2 separate regions of the Homo sapiens genome follow, and region 1 is linked to region 2. The links are contacts of gene promoters, found by promoter capture Hi-C in blood cells and fetal thymus (Javierre and others, 2016). All regions are on one chromosome and are shown on one strand. Each heading gives the region's core, a stretch centred on a gene start or on the middle of the fragment in contact. The rest is flanking DNA. Distances are from core to core; before and after follow the strand shown.

The links. Contacts are between HindIII fragments. The CHiCAGO score rates a contact against its expected background, and 5 or more counts as called.
Region 1: a fragment that was not itself captured here is called in contact with the fragment with the promoter of BTBD9-AS1 in region 2 in 2 of 17 cell types (endothelial precursors and M1 macrophages); the score reaches 5.3 in endothelial precursors.

What each region holds. Positions count from the first base shown.
Region 1 is chr6:38,237,395-38,243,926 of GRCh38, forward strand. All of the region lies in intron 9 of BTBD9 (BTB domain containing 9), which reads right to left. It overlaps LOC105375045 (a long non-coding RNA gene), which reads left to right and starts at 4,907. Exons shown (of 2, transcript XR_926772.4): 1 at 4,907-6,245. The HindIII fragment of the contact is 907 bases long and covers 2,303-3,209 here.
Region 2 is chr6:38,480,152-38,487,211 of GRCh38, forward strand. It overlaps BTBD9-AS1 (BTBD9 antisense RNA 1), which reads left to right and starts at 1,445. Exons shown (of 2, transcript NR_144472.1): 1 at 1,445-1,635; 2 at 1,916-2,376. The region is part of intron 6 of BTBD9 (BTB domain containing 9); the gene reads right to left. The HindIII fragment of the contact is 1,570 bases long and covers 73-1,642 here.

The DNA of each region.
Region 1 (6,532 bases), core at 1,506-4,005, 240 kb before region 2:
CCTGCATGTTAGTTGCCACCATTCACTAATATCCTGGTTTTAGCAAGTCAGATGCACCAAAGTACCAGGAAGGCCACCTGTGTGGAGATAAATGGCAGTCCCCGGTGATCATGGAAGTACCAGGGCTCCCATCAACATGATTCATAAAATCACATGATATCACAAAATCAACAGTTTCTGGTCTTGCTTAAGCCATCTGATAGGAGTAAATGGTTACCAAGATGCCTACAGAAACTAATGAATGAATAGATAATGCCAGCTATATCTCAGAAAGAAGAAAAGATAATCTGATGAAAAAACAATCTTAATTCCTTACAAAAAAGTGCTGAATCTTATGGTATTTCAAGTGTCAAGAAAAAATAAACAGATGACTTTAAAGAGAGGTGGGGAGGGTTACAATGTAAAGCATTTGTCTGTTTCCTTTTCAATGGTATTTTCCAATGTTTTAAAAAAAAAAAATCAGCCAGATATGGTAGCTCATGCCTCTACTCCCAGCACTTTGGGAGGCTGAGGCAAAAAGACTGCTTGAGGCCAGGAGTTCGAGACCAGCCTGGGCAATAAAGAGAGTCCCTGTCTCTATTTAAAAAAAATAGAAAAATTAGTTGGGCATGGTGGTGGCATGTGCCTATAGTCCCAGCTACCTGGGAGATGGAAGCAGGAGGATTGCCGGAGGCTAGGTTTAGAAGCCTAGGTGACAGAGCAGGACTTTGTCTCTTAAAAAACAAAACAAAATCAGCAAGCACCTCATTCAATCTTTTTTAAACAAAAAATTTGAAGAAATTGATTCTGAGCCAAATATGAGTGACCAATGGCCTGTGATACAACCCTCAGGAGGTCCTGAGAACAAGTGCTCAAGGTGGTCATTTGGGGCACAGCCTAGTTTTATACATTTTAGGGAGACGTGAGACGTCAATCAAATACATGTAAGATTTACATTGGTTCCACCTGGAAGGGTAGGGCAACTCAAGGACGGGTGCTTCCAGGTCATTAAAAATTTTCTGATTGGCAATTGGTTGAGAGTTATTATCAACAGAAAGGAATGTATGCTTTACAGTAAGCTGTTGCGGAGACCAAGGTTTTTTGTTTTTTTTTTTTTGAGACGGAGTCTCGCTCTGTCGCCCAGGCTGGAGTGCAGTGGCACGATCTCGGCTCACTGCAAGCTCCACCTCCCGGGTTCACACCATTGTCCTGCCTCAGCCTCCCGAGTAGCTGGGACTACAGGCGCCCACCACCACGCCCAGCTAATTTTTTTGTATTTTTAGTAGAGACGGGGTTTCACCGTGTTATCCAGGATGGTCTCGATTTCCTGACCTGTTGATCCGCCCACCTCGGCCTCCCAAAGTGCCAGGATTACAGGCGTGAGCCACCGCGCCTGGCCGAGACCAATGTTTTATCATGCAGGTGAAGCCTCCAAGTAGTAGGTTTCAGACAGAATAGACTGTAAATGTTTCTTATCAGACTTGAGATCTGTGTTGATGTTAATGCTGGTCAGCTTTCCCTGAATTCTAAAAGGGAAGAGGGTATAATGAGACATGTCCGACCCCTGCTTCCATCATGGCCTGAACAAGTTTTTCAGGCTAACTTTCTAATGCCCTTGGCTGAAAGAAGGGGTCCATTTGGATGGTTACTCCATTCAATCTTAATGGGGTGGGACTCGGGAGAAGAGTACAGAACATAAAAGGCCCTCTTCCTCTCTCAGGAAAGGACACCAAGTCATCTAGTGCAAGTTCACTTTACACTTCAGATATAATCTCTTGGCCAGGAGCGGTGGCTCATGCCCATAATCCCTGTAATCCCAGCACTTTGGGAGGCCGAGGTGGACAGATCACGAGGTCAAGAGATCGAGACCATCCTGGCCAACATGGTGAAACCCTGTCTCTACTAAAAACACAAAAATTAGCTGGGCGTGGTGGCGCACGTCTGCAGTCCCAGCTACTTGGGAGGCTGAGGCAGGAGAACTGCTTGAACCTGGGATGTGGAGGTTGCAGTGAGCCAAGATCGTGCCACTGCATTGTAGCCTGGCGACAGAGCAAGACTCTGTCTCAAAAAAAAAAAAAAAAAAAAAAGATATAATCTCTTATAGGAAATTTAAAACAATAACCTGAGACATGGCAGTTTTATCACCCAAGCTACTGGGCTAAGCTTCAGGATACCAAACCCTTGAGTAAAAAGCACAGCCAGGAGACAGCTAAAAGGAGCTTAAGAATGTATATAGTCATTTTATTATAAATGGCTACTCTGGAGCCAATATACTTGACTTTGACTTTTTTAAGGCAAGATTAACCATGACACATTTTGGTCAAGCTTAGGAAACAACTTGCTAATAATCTATCTTGTGAAAAAAGATGCCTCTGGAAATTCATCATATTGGTGGAGGGAGAAAACACCTACATTTTGGCTGTCACTAAAAGCCAAACAGAAACTTCCTGTTTTCAAGGGTCAGTGGAAAATTACTGCTTATTATATAGTATTACATTTACAGAAACTGCAAGTGCTCATCACAAACTGAACGTCACACTTACCTTATCAGAAAGAGCAGCCTGGCACTGGCACAGGAGTGCAACAAAACACGGTCAATTTACTAAGCCTCCCGATAGCCAAGGTTATTGTTGGCAATACAAAAGGTAACAAAGGAGTGGACTGGCTGAGCGTGCAAGGCTGCTATCCTGCCATCTCTGGGAAGATCTGAGCTCAAGGCACACCTGAACTTCCCTCCAGCAGGCTGAAGAGAGAACGAGTGATTTTCTTGTATCCACCAAGGCCAGGCCCATTCCATCTAGGTAGTAAGTACTTCCAGATTTAGCATGCTGCCTACTCCCATAAATGTTATCCCTACTGAGTCACTCAGAGAAGATTTGGTCTAACTCCATGTGTCAGAATCCACAAATGCCTCTATTTGCATTGGGATCAAGGCCCCTCAGTCTCAGCTGGTCCTGAGCCAATTGGGAAGGCTTAATTAGTGAGCCCATGAGAGGAGGGAAGTGCCCAGCACAGAGCCTGACCTAAAGCAGTGGCTCAAAATATGTCCACTAAATTAATGCCTAGATAAATATCAGACTTTTGAGTTAACATAAGCCCATGCCCTACAGTTTAGGGTTCCTGGCAGGGAAATGATTCAATAGTATTTGAATGATAATTTTAATTAAGGAAATGGCAAAAGAAGAAAATACTGCCTGAAAATATCAGTGGTTCTATCCCCCAAAATGAAAAGCTTAGAAAATTGTGCCCTGTGTTCCCTTCTCATCTCCTCAGAAATTCATAAAGTTAATTAATATTAATGTAAGAACACCATATTAAAGCAATGTGAAGGCATAAATTTGAAAATCAGACTAGAAATTCAAAAATGAAGGCATTTGGAATTGTAGATTCACAGTACGTGCCATGTCTAACTAAAAACTTGATTACTTCTTAATGTTATTGTGGCTCTGTCTTCACAGGGCAATTGAGGCTTTCAATTAGCCTACCAGATCCACGCTCAAACGGGCAGAGGCTGTGATAGGAGGGGCTCAGTGGTGCTCCGAGAACACCAACTCTGAAGTCCTGTTGGTTTAAATCTGTGACCCTGACACTAGATTAATGTAGATTTGGGTTTTGATCTTAATTAGGAAAAATGAATTCTGAAGATTCAGAAATGTGAAACAAACAAACAAGCTTCCAGGAGCCCCTCCTTCTCCCACCCTCAGCATACCCTAAAGAAAAGACTATACATTTCAAAGCTCCAGCATCAGAATTTCTATTAAGCTTATATGTCCACTGCTAAATCCTACAGAGAATTCAGTAACTCTCCAGAGAATCAGGAAGGAAAAAAGAACGATATAAACAAGTTCTCTCCTCTAATAGAGCAGTACCAACATATGCTATCTTCCTTTGCCTAAGAATCACCTCACAGCAGAAATTTACACTAAGGCTCTGAGAACCGCAGATGAGGAAGCAAGCAGTATTATCCAGTCTTCCTCATCTGAGGAAAACCACGAACTCTCTGGGACAAATTTAATGTGCAACATTGCCTCAAGGTAGAAGGCCGAACAAGATGACCACTCATCAGGTCAAGATTGCTAAGCCACATTACTAGGAATACAAACATTCTTTTGCTCCATTTAGGTTTATTACATGGGCTCCATACTGTTGTATAAATTTGGATAAAGAAGTGAAAAGTGTATGAGCAGAAAGCACTCGCAAACTCCCTCCAAAGCAGCTGGTAAATGTGTGCAATTCCAGATGATCACCACTCTGAAACTATACTTTAGAACTTTGTAAGAAATGTTTATTACTGATACTCAGTACATAATTTATAACACCACGGTGAAATTCACTTACATTCCATTTCAAGGGATGGTGAAAAGAAAATGTCAACTGTGGGGAAAATATGCTTTATAGAGCTTGGCTTAAAACAGAGGGAAAAAAACCACACATGCAAGTCTCTTTTCGTGGAAGGAAACAGTCTAATAAATGGCCTAATGAACAGTGTAATGATTTTTTTTAAGTAGGCAATAGGAAGGAAAAGGGAAGAAAAACAGGCTAATATACTCTACAACCTGAATAATGAACCCCTAGATAATCTAGATTTGACCACTGGTGTAGAAGCTATACTTTTAAAACCAATTTTAAAGTATGAATTATGATACAGCTAATAGGCTGGACAAATTAATATTCTGTGGAAGTAGTACTGACAGCAAGGTAGGGAATCATATAAAAATAAAGGTGGATTTCTTTGTATCCATAGTCTTCATCATACTTCTGGAAGGTGGATAGTTGACTTGTACCTTTATGTGATTTTAAAATCTGAAGTTCATAGCCTCCTTGGGTTGGGAAATCACCAGTCGTCCCAGGCACAACATGAGCCAGTAGCAGATGGGTAGGCTCAAAATGCATCTTTTCAGAAAAATTTCCCTAACTCCATCCCATACTCTGATAATGTTTATATACTTACAGTACTTACATATCTGATTTTTCATGTTTACTGTGGTCTTATAGGCCATGCAAAATTCTGGGAAAAAGGGACTCAGAATCAGGAGACCTGAGTTCTAATCCAGGGCTTGCCATTAGATGAGAACTTGGGAAAGGCACCTGTGACTGCTGTCTCATCTGTAAAATGGGAGGCTTGGGCTATGATTTCCAAGGTACTTCTACCAGTTACAGTATTGTTTGATTCTAGGATCTTGTTTTGTATTTTACACTGTGTGTGCATATGTGTGTGTGTACACAAACAAGATGGTTCCCAAATGTTCTGTATAACCTGTAAGTTCCTTCATAGAAGAAATGTCTTCCTGTCTCCTCAGAATTTTCCTTCACAATGTATTAATAGTATGAGCCTCTACCTACTAGGGTCACTGAACAAATATTAGACTGAATCAAAGTTGTGCATTTGACTACAGACCTACAGAGATGACTCTGGGAAAAGCTGCTCCTATACTTCCAAGGGGATAAATCCCAATGTACCTTGAAAAATGGCTAGATTTTTAAAAAGTAACCTTTCTCCTGGACTAGGCCCTTATTTCTTCCCTTTTCTGAAACAGACCCAAGAAACAGTAAATGTATCAAGTTATATGCATGCCAATTACAGTGGACATTCACATAATGGAGCAGTCACTTGTGTTTGGGAGGAGAAAGATCAAGGAAGAACTCATAGAGCATTTGGCTGGGTCTTGAAGGGAACACTGAATAGGTGGAGACTTGAAGATCAGCCAGAGCAAATAAAAATAATTAGCTTACCTAAAGCATGGGCTCATTTAACAATAGTGATTAGGCCAGGCTGAAAGGAAAGTAGGAATATAAGGACTGTAAAGAGAGAATTACAGAAATAAAGGTTAGAAAGTCTGGTTAGAGTCAGAGAGATATGGTAATTTTATATTTGAAATCTGGACATGTGGTTTAACAGGAGGCAGGATATTTAAAAATGAGATGTTTAGGGAGAGCTGGTCATGTAGAGATAGAAGATGACCCAGGTAAGGATCGGAGGCTTTCCTCACTGAAGGTCCCTGTACAGGGATTAAGAAATCACAGCAACGACAACCTAGCAACAGTGTTCTAGACTCTAGTACAGCAACAGACGTAGAGTATAGAAATTCTCTGCAACAGTATTGAGGGAAACTCACTAGAAGCTACTATAAATACTCCAGGAAATAAGTATGAAGGTCTGAATACGAATGGAGGCAATGGGAATGGAAAAAAAAGATGAAAGGGTATAACAGAAAGGATATAGCACCTGAATGACTGTGGAGGGCAAAGAAGAAAGACTCAAAGGGGTAAGAGATGCCCAGGGGAAGGGAGCTACAACAACAAAAGCAGGGACACCAAAGGAGTGGAGCTGCTTTATGGAGAATGACAATGATGAGTTTAGTTTGAGACAAGTTGTGTTTGAGAAACCATTCTAGAAGGTGCCAATGGAAAATATGAATGAAAGAGACAGCTGAAGCCAAGAGAATGAGCTAAATGGTGATTCTGTGTGCATGCTGGACCCCTGAATTCATAAAAATGCCCTTTTCCTTCTTCTTTTTTAAACACAGGAAGAAAACACGAGCCTCTTAGTTCT
Region 2 (7,060 bases), core at 195-2,694:
TACTCTTTGGAAACAGATAAACGTAGCTCTGAAACCCTGCCTTGCTCCTTGCTAGCTGCATGATTCTGAGCAAGCTTCTTGATACTCAGCTTCCTCATCCATAAATACGGGGAGCAATGCACTTCCTTTGCAGGGCTCTTGTGGGCTGAGAGACAGCATGCATTCAACACTCAGAGTACCTCTCCTTTGTCGGTGCTCAATAAACAGTAGCTCATCTCTGCCATTCCTGGAGTTAAGGCAGAAGACCCACAGTACAGCACTCTGCTTAGGAGCTCTTATGAAAGTGTAGGTCAGATTGGTGCAAGTCCTGTCAAATGGGCATTGGTGGGTTACACAATCTGCTTTTAGCCTCTCATTTAAATTAAGCATGGGCCAGAACATCAAACTCTTTTCAAGAAATCAGTGCTGTAACTGGGACCCTGAGACTACCTCCATGCAAAGTAGTATATAAGTAAAAAGCTCTAATTTTGCTTGTAGCTCAGCTATAGAACACGCCAAAACCCCCCACCAAACCCACTGTTCTAAGTAATGGAAGTGTACTCTGAGAACCATCTGAAAAGAAGCCTGACAACTTGCCTGTCTTATTCCCCACCTGACCTCAATCTTTCTTCCTCTGAGTGGATGATTCCAGTGCCAGTTTTAGATCCAGTGCCTACCCAAGATTTGGCGCTTCCCAAACAGACTGTAGTGTTGGTAGACAGCATATAGCCATCACACAGGCTGACACTAAGAGATAGTGGGTATGAATGTGCGCTCTGTGCAAAATCCTCATGGGGAAGGAAGGCAACACCTGGGTACCTTTGGCAATGTAAAAATTCCCTTCTTTTAAAAATGCTCTTTAAACAAAGAGCTTTATATCTAGACTCAAAAATGCCTTTCCATCAGTATCAGCTTCTCCCAGGTAAAAGGAAGTGAAGACAGAAACAATGGAAATCCCATTGAGTAGGGAGAGGCAAAACAGAAAGGTTTATTCTAACGTGAGAGGAGCCCATGATGATGTGAAAGGGAAAGAAGAGAGAAGAATGGCATATAACCTGGAAGATTCAAGTACATTCACAGATAGATACTTTCCCAAGGTGTGCAGGAATCTAGCCCTTCTTCAAGGAGACAACCATAGCATCATATAATTCAAATTAATTCCTTTCTGAATGAGAGCTGAGTAACAAAGACAAAACTTGGCAAGATGGCACAGCACAGTGAGTGCAAAATTGTATTCCCAGTTGATACTTGGTGAGATGTTAGGTTGTCAGCTTAATGTAAAATAAAATGAGGCCGCACATCGTAAAGTGTTTTGAAAAGTAAAAATCCAAGGGAGATAGGAAGGCAGCATTTTAATGAGTCTAGAGAAAATGAATTCCAGGGTGAGCAGCTCTGCTCACGACCTCTTTTCAGTTGGTATCCCATAGGCCTCTGGGAAGCGGGGCACATGAGGGAGGGGCCAGTGCCTGCCTCCACACTACCCCCTCTCCCCTAATGAGGCTGGCAGCACCATTTGCTAGCACCTGGCAGATGAGAGAGAAAGAAAACCTGGTGTGGAGACCCCCATCCATTAAAGGCAAGAGAGTGAAAAGTGGGAGAGAAAGCTCCCAAGTTCAACAGCAGTGACCTAGGGTCATGCAGTGAGGACTTACAAAGGTATAAAAGCTTCTTTATTCAGGTGGTTCCTTTCAGCGCAACTTATTTGATGATGCTTAATGCAGGCAGTTAAAAGAACAGTTCAGTTGGATATAACTTACAGTACGTCACACAAATCTGGAGTGCCCAAGGAACATTAGTTTCAGGGAACACACTGAGATTATAACCAGCCTTTTTGCCAGGGGCAGCTTGTAACTCAGAAAGTCATGTTTCATTTAGGATGTGCTGTATAATGTTGAAGGGGAAAGTAACTATTTTGTTTTGTTGTGTTTCTTCCCAGTCCAAGAAGAAAGCATTTGGAGAAGTGCTACACATGCTCAACTGAACTTCCTGTCAAATTGTTCTCACTCGTTTGGGCACAAGTCTGCTTAAGCCATCTCTCATTAACATTTACTCTTGCCCGAAGCCCTCTACGCCCCCAACCCCTGCTAATCTTCCACAAGCAAGCTGATCACACTGGGATCTCCTTTTCCCAGACACGTTTGATTCTCACTTTCTCCTGAACCTAGAAATGTGCTTCCCACCAAAGCATGCCAGGCACTAACTCGTCCCTACTGAAAGGGGCTGTTAAAAGCTCATCTTCTTTCCAGATGGTAGTGAGGTGTGAGGTGATCCTTTCTCTTTCTTTTTTTTTTTTTTTTACTTTTAGCTACCCCTCAATTCTGGTGTTCAGTAACAATGTATTCCACTTAAAAGAGAGAAATCATATTAATTATTCTAAGATATAAACACTTAATTTTATTCATGCTCTTGAATTACTTTCCTTTCTACCGCATGTTTGTGTAGCTGTTATATGAGTCCTTTCTACTGATGTAGCTGTCATTCCTTCAACTCAGTTCTTGCCAAACACTGAGCTATGTCTGGAGATACAAAGATAACTACTCTTGTTGAAGAGATGCCAGTTTAGTGGGGGAGACAGACATGTAAACAGATCTGTATCTGAGATAGATGGCCTGGGTAGGAAAAGAATATATATAGCACAAATAACTCAGTGGACCTGCAAAAACAGAGCTTGAGGCCATGATATACCACAAAGACCCACCAAGGCACAAGCACTGTCAACATGAAGGTAAGGCTTCCATTTTTGCCTCTTTCAATCTGGGTACATCTATTCTACATACTCTGCCTTTCCTCCTGTTACAGGAAAAGAAGGAACCTCAATTCTACCTAAAGTCAATCTTCTCCTTGAGCTAGAGATCCAGCCCCTCTCCCATAATGAGGTACACGGCCCCTACAAAGATCCACTCTCCTGCATTATCAAATCCTCCCTCCCTGTGGTATCATTCCAGTCCACACACACACATACCTTAACATCATCCTCCCTTGACCCTAGGTCCCCCTCCATCCTCTTCATCATTTCTCTGCTTCCCCTCCCAGTGATACTTTATCTTCTACATGTATTGCTACCCCTATTCCCTCAGCCTCTATTCCCTTCTCCCTTGACTCCACTGAAATGGCTCTTAAAGGACGCCACTAAGCTCTATCTTGCTACAACCAGGAGTCGATTTTCTGTTACCTACTGCCCTCTCCCATCTCCCCTCCTCATACCGAAAGACTGACTTTTTAAGACTTCCATGAAAATGTTGTCCTTGTTTTCTTCCTGCCTCACTGGCAGCTCCTTCCCAGTCTCTTGTATTCACTTTTCCTTGCCCACCTGCTGTCTGGTCTTCCCTATAGTCCATTCTCACACTAGATCACACTAGAGTTATCTTTCAAAAATCTCAACTACCATCACCTGGTTTAAACCCTTCTATGGTTTCCCATCATCCTTAGAATTCGACACTATCAAGTCCCTGTAGGACATGGCTCCTGTCTATCTGTCTGCCCTCATTGCTAAACATACCTTCCTCCCAACACCCTACAGACTATCTACCCACCAGATTTCAGAAACACATGGCCTTCTTTCTGTTCCTCAAAAACCCCAAGCTAGTTTCTACTTCACAGCCTTTACTCTTGCTGTTCCCTAGCCTGGAACACTTCTCCCTTAGATTGCTGCATAGCCAAGCCAACTTCTTGTAATTCAAGTTTTGGCTCAACTCACTTCCTCAGAAAGGCCTTCCCTGACCGTTCTGCTCAAGTGCTCCTTCCCCAAACTCAACCACTGGCTAGCTTATTCCCCCATTCCAATTTTGTCAAACTATGACTAGTCAGTATCACATTTATTTCTTTACATCTCATTTTTCTCTCTCTCCTACTACAATGTAAACTGCGTTAAGCAACAACTTAATCTCGTTTACTGCTATATGTCTACTTCCAGGCACAGTGTTTAGTATATTGTGGGTGCTCCGTAAACATTTTACTCAATGGATAAATGAAATGACGATGAAATCCTTGTTTAGAATCCTGTGTTCAGCTCTTTGCTCTTCAACTGTAGACATGCACAGAAGCATAAAGGTGAGACATAATAACTAGTGCACAGGGAAATCAGACCTATGAAACTAGAACTAGAATTACTAAGGAAGTGTTATATTTTTATTCTTCAGGGGTAATCATTAGTTGTTTTTTAAATGTCTAATGAGGATTAAATAAAAAGAAATGGATTAAAGGTTCAGCAGATGGGCAAAAGTTCTAGAGTAGATAAAATGTGGGTTAGATTTATAAAAACACTTCCTGGGACTGACTACTATTTGAGATTATAATCAGTTCCTGAAGAAGAATACTGGATATCTTTTTAAAACAAAAAGAGATAACAGTAATCCTTTATCAACTGAGTGCTTCCTTTGTACCAAGACCTCTGCTAAGGCTGTTTTACAAGCCTGATCTCCTTTGACATTTGTAGCAACCCTATGAGACAGGTACAGGGATAGCTGGGAGATGTCATGGGTTCAGTTTATGACCACACAATAAAGCAAGCCACACAAATCTTTTGGTTTCTCAGTGCATATAAAAATTACGTTTACACTGTATGGTAGCCTATTAAGTGTGCAACAGCATTATGTCCAAAAAAAGTACAGATTATTAATTAAAACATACTTTATTGCTAAAAAATGTTAACAATCATCTGAGTCTCAAGTGAGTCATAACCTTTTTGCTGGTGGAGGATCACGCCTCAATGTTGATAGCTGCTGACTGATCAGGGTGGTGGTTGCTGAAGGCTGGGGTGGCTGTGACAATTTCTTAAAGTAAGACAATGATGAAGTCTGCTGCATCTATTGACTCTTCTTTCATGAAAGATTTATCTGTAGCATACGATGCTGTTTGACAGCATTTTTACCAATAGTAGACCTTCTTTCAAAATTGAGGTCAATCCTCTCAAACCCTACTACTGCTTTATCAACTAAGTTTGTGTGACAGCCTAAATCTTTTGTTCTAGAATCTACCATTTCAACAATATTCACTGCATCTTCACCAGGAGTAGATTCTATCTCAAGAATTCTATCTTCACTTTCTTTGCTCATCCATAAGAAGCAACTCCTCAACCATTAAAGTTTGCAGCAATCCAGTCATATCTTCAGACTACACTTACTGCTGTTAATATTTTGACCACCTCTCACGAATCACAAATATTCTTAATGGCCTCTAAATGGTGAATACTTTCCAGAAGGCTTTCAATTTGCTTTGCCCAGATCAGAGGAATCAAAAGAATTTGCCATCAAAGGAATCACTATCTATAGCTATAAGCTATAGCCTTACAAAATGTATTTCGTAAATAAGACTGGAAAGTTAACATGATTCCTTGATCCACGGGCTGCAGAATGGATGTTGTGTTAACAGGCATGAAAACAACATTCATCTCCTTGTACAGCTCCATCATAGCTCGTGGGTGACCAGGTACATGGTCAATGAGCAGGAATATTTTGAGAGGAGCTGTTTTGTCTCAGCAGTAGGTGTCAGCTGTGGGCTTAAGATATTCAGGAAACCATGCTGTAAACAGATGTGCAGTCATCCAGGCTTTGTTGTTCCATCTACAGAGCACAGGCAGAGTAGATTTAGCATAACTCTTAGGGCCCTAGGATTTTCAAAGTGATAAATGAGCACTGGCCTCACCCTAAAGTTACCAGCTACATTAGCCCCTAACAAGAGAATCAGAAATGTCCTTTGAAGCTTTAAAGCCAGGCAGTGACTTCTCCTCTCCAGCTATTAAAGTCCTGGGTGGCATCTTCTTCCAATAGGAGGCTATTTCATCTATCTTGAAAATCTGCTGCTTAGTGTAGCCACCTTCGTCAATGATCTTAGCTAGGTCTTCTGGGTAACTTGCTGCAGCTTCTACACAAGCAGCTGCTGCTTCTTCTTGCATTTTTATGTTATGGAGATGGCTTCTGTTCTTCATCTTATGAATCAACCTCTGCTAGCTCCAAGATGAATCAACCTCTGCTAGCTCTAAGCTTTTGTTTTGCACCTTCCGCACCTCTCTCAGCCTTCACAGAATTGAAGAGTTAGGGCCTTGCTCCGAATCAGGCTTTGGCTTTAGGGAATGTTGTGGCTGGTTTGGTCTTCTATCCATACCCACTCAAACTTTCTCCATATCAGCAATGGCTGCTTTGCTTTCTTATCATTCCTGTGTTCACTGGAGTGCTTGGACTTTCCTTCAAGAACTTTTCCTTTGCATTCACAACTTGGCAAACTGTCTTAAGAGGCTTAGCTTTCAGCCTATCTCAGCTTTCAACATGCCTTCTTCACTAAGCTTAATCATTTCTAGCTTTTGATTTAAAGTGAGAGAGATGTGGCTCTTCCTTTCACTTCAACACTTAAAGAGACTACTGTAGGGTTATTAACTGGCCTAATTTCAATATTGTATCTCAGGGAATAGGGAGATTGGAGGACAGGGAGAGATGGGGGAACAACCAGTCAGTGGAGCAGTCAGAATACACACATTTATCTATTAAATTCTGTCTTCTATGGGTGTGGTTTGTGATGTTCCAAAACAATTACAATAGTAACATCAAAAATCATCGATTACAGATCACTACAATAGATATAATAATAATGAAAAGTTTTGAAATATTGTGAGAATTACCAAAATGTGACATAGGCACACAAGTAAGCACATGCTGCTGGAAAAATAGGGCCAAAACACTTGTTGAACACGGAGTTGCCATAACCTTCAGTTGGTAAAAACAAAACAAAATACCACAGTATCTGCAAAGTGTAACAAAAAGGGGTATGCTTGTAGCACTATTCTCATTTTAACTTGAAATGGTCAGATAGTTGGTAAATGACCAAGCTGGGACTGAATTCGGTCCATTTAACTCTAAAATCTGTGCTTAACACTTATGTTTACAAGAGAGAGTTGAGATGGGCCCTGCTGAGAGCATGAGAGTTAACTACTTGAATCTGTACCCAAATCTAGGATTCTAACATATTTTCAGGAACAGCACAAAGGACACAATATAAAGAACAATTTAAAATAGTCCTGTGTAAGGTAGATTCCATCTTTGAGCTTTTGGTTATAAAGACATTTGAAGAACTAGACAAAATTATGTGC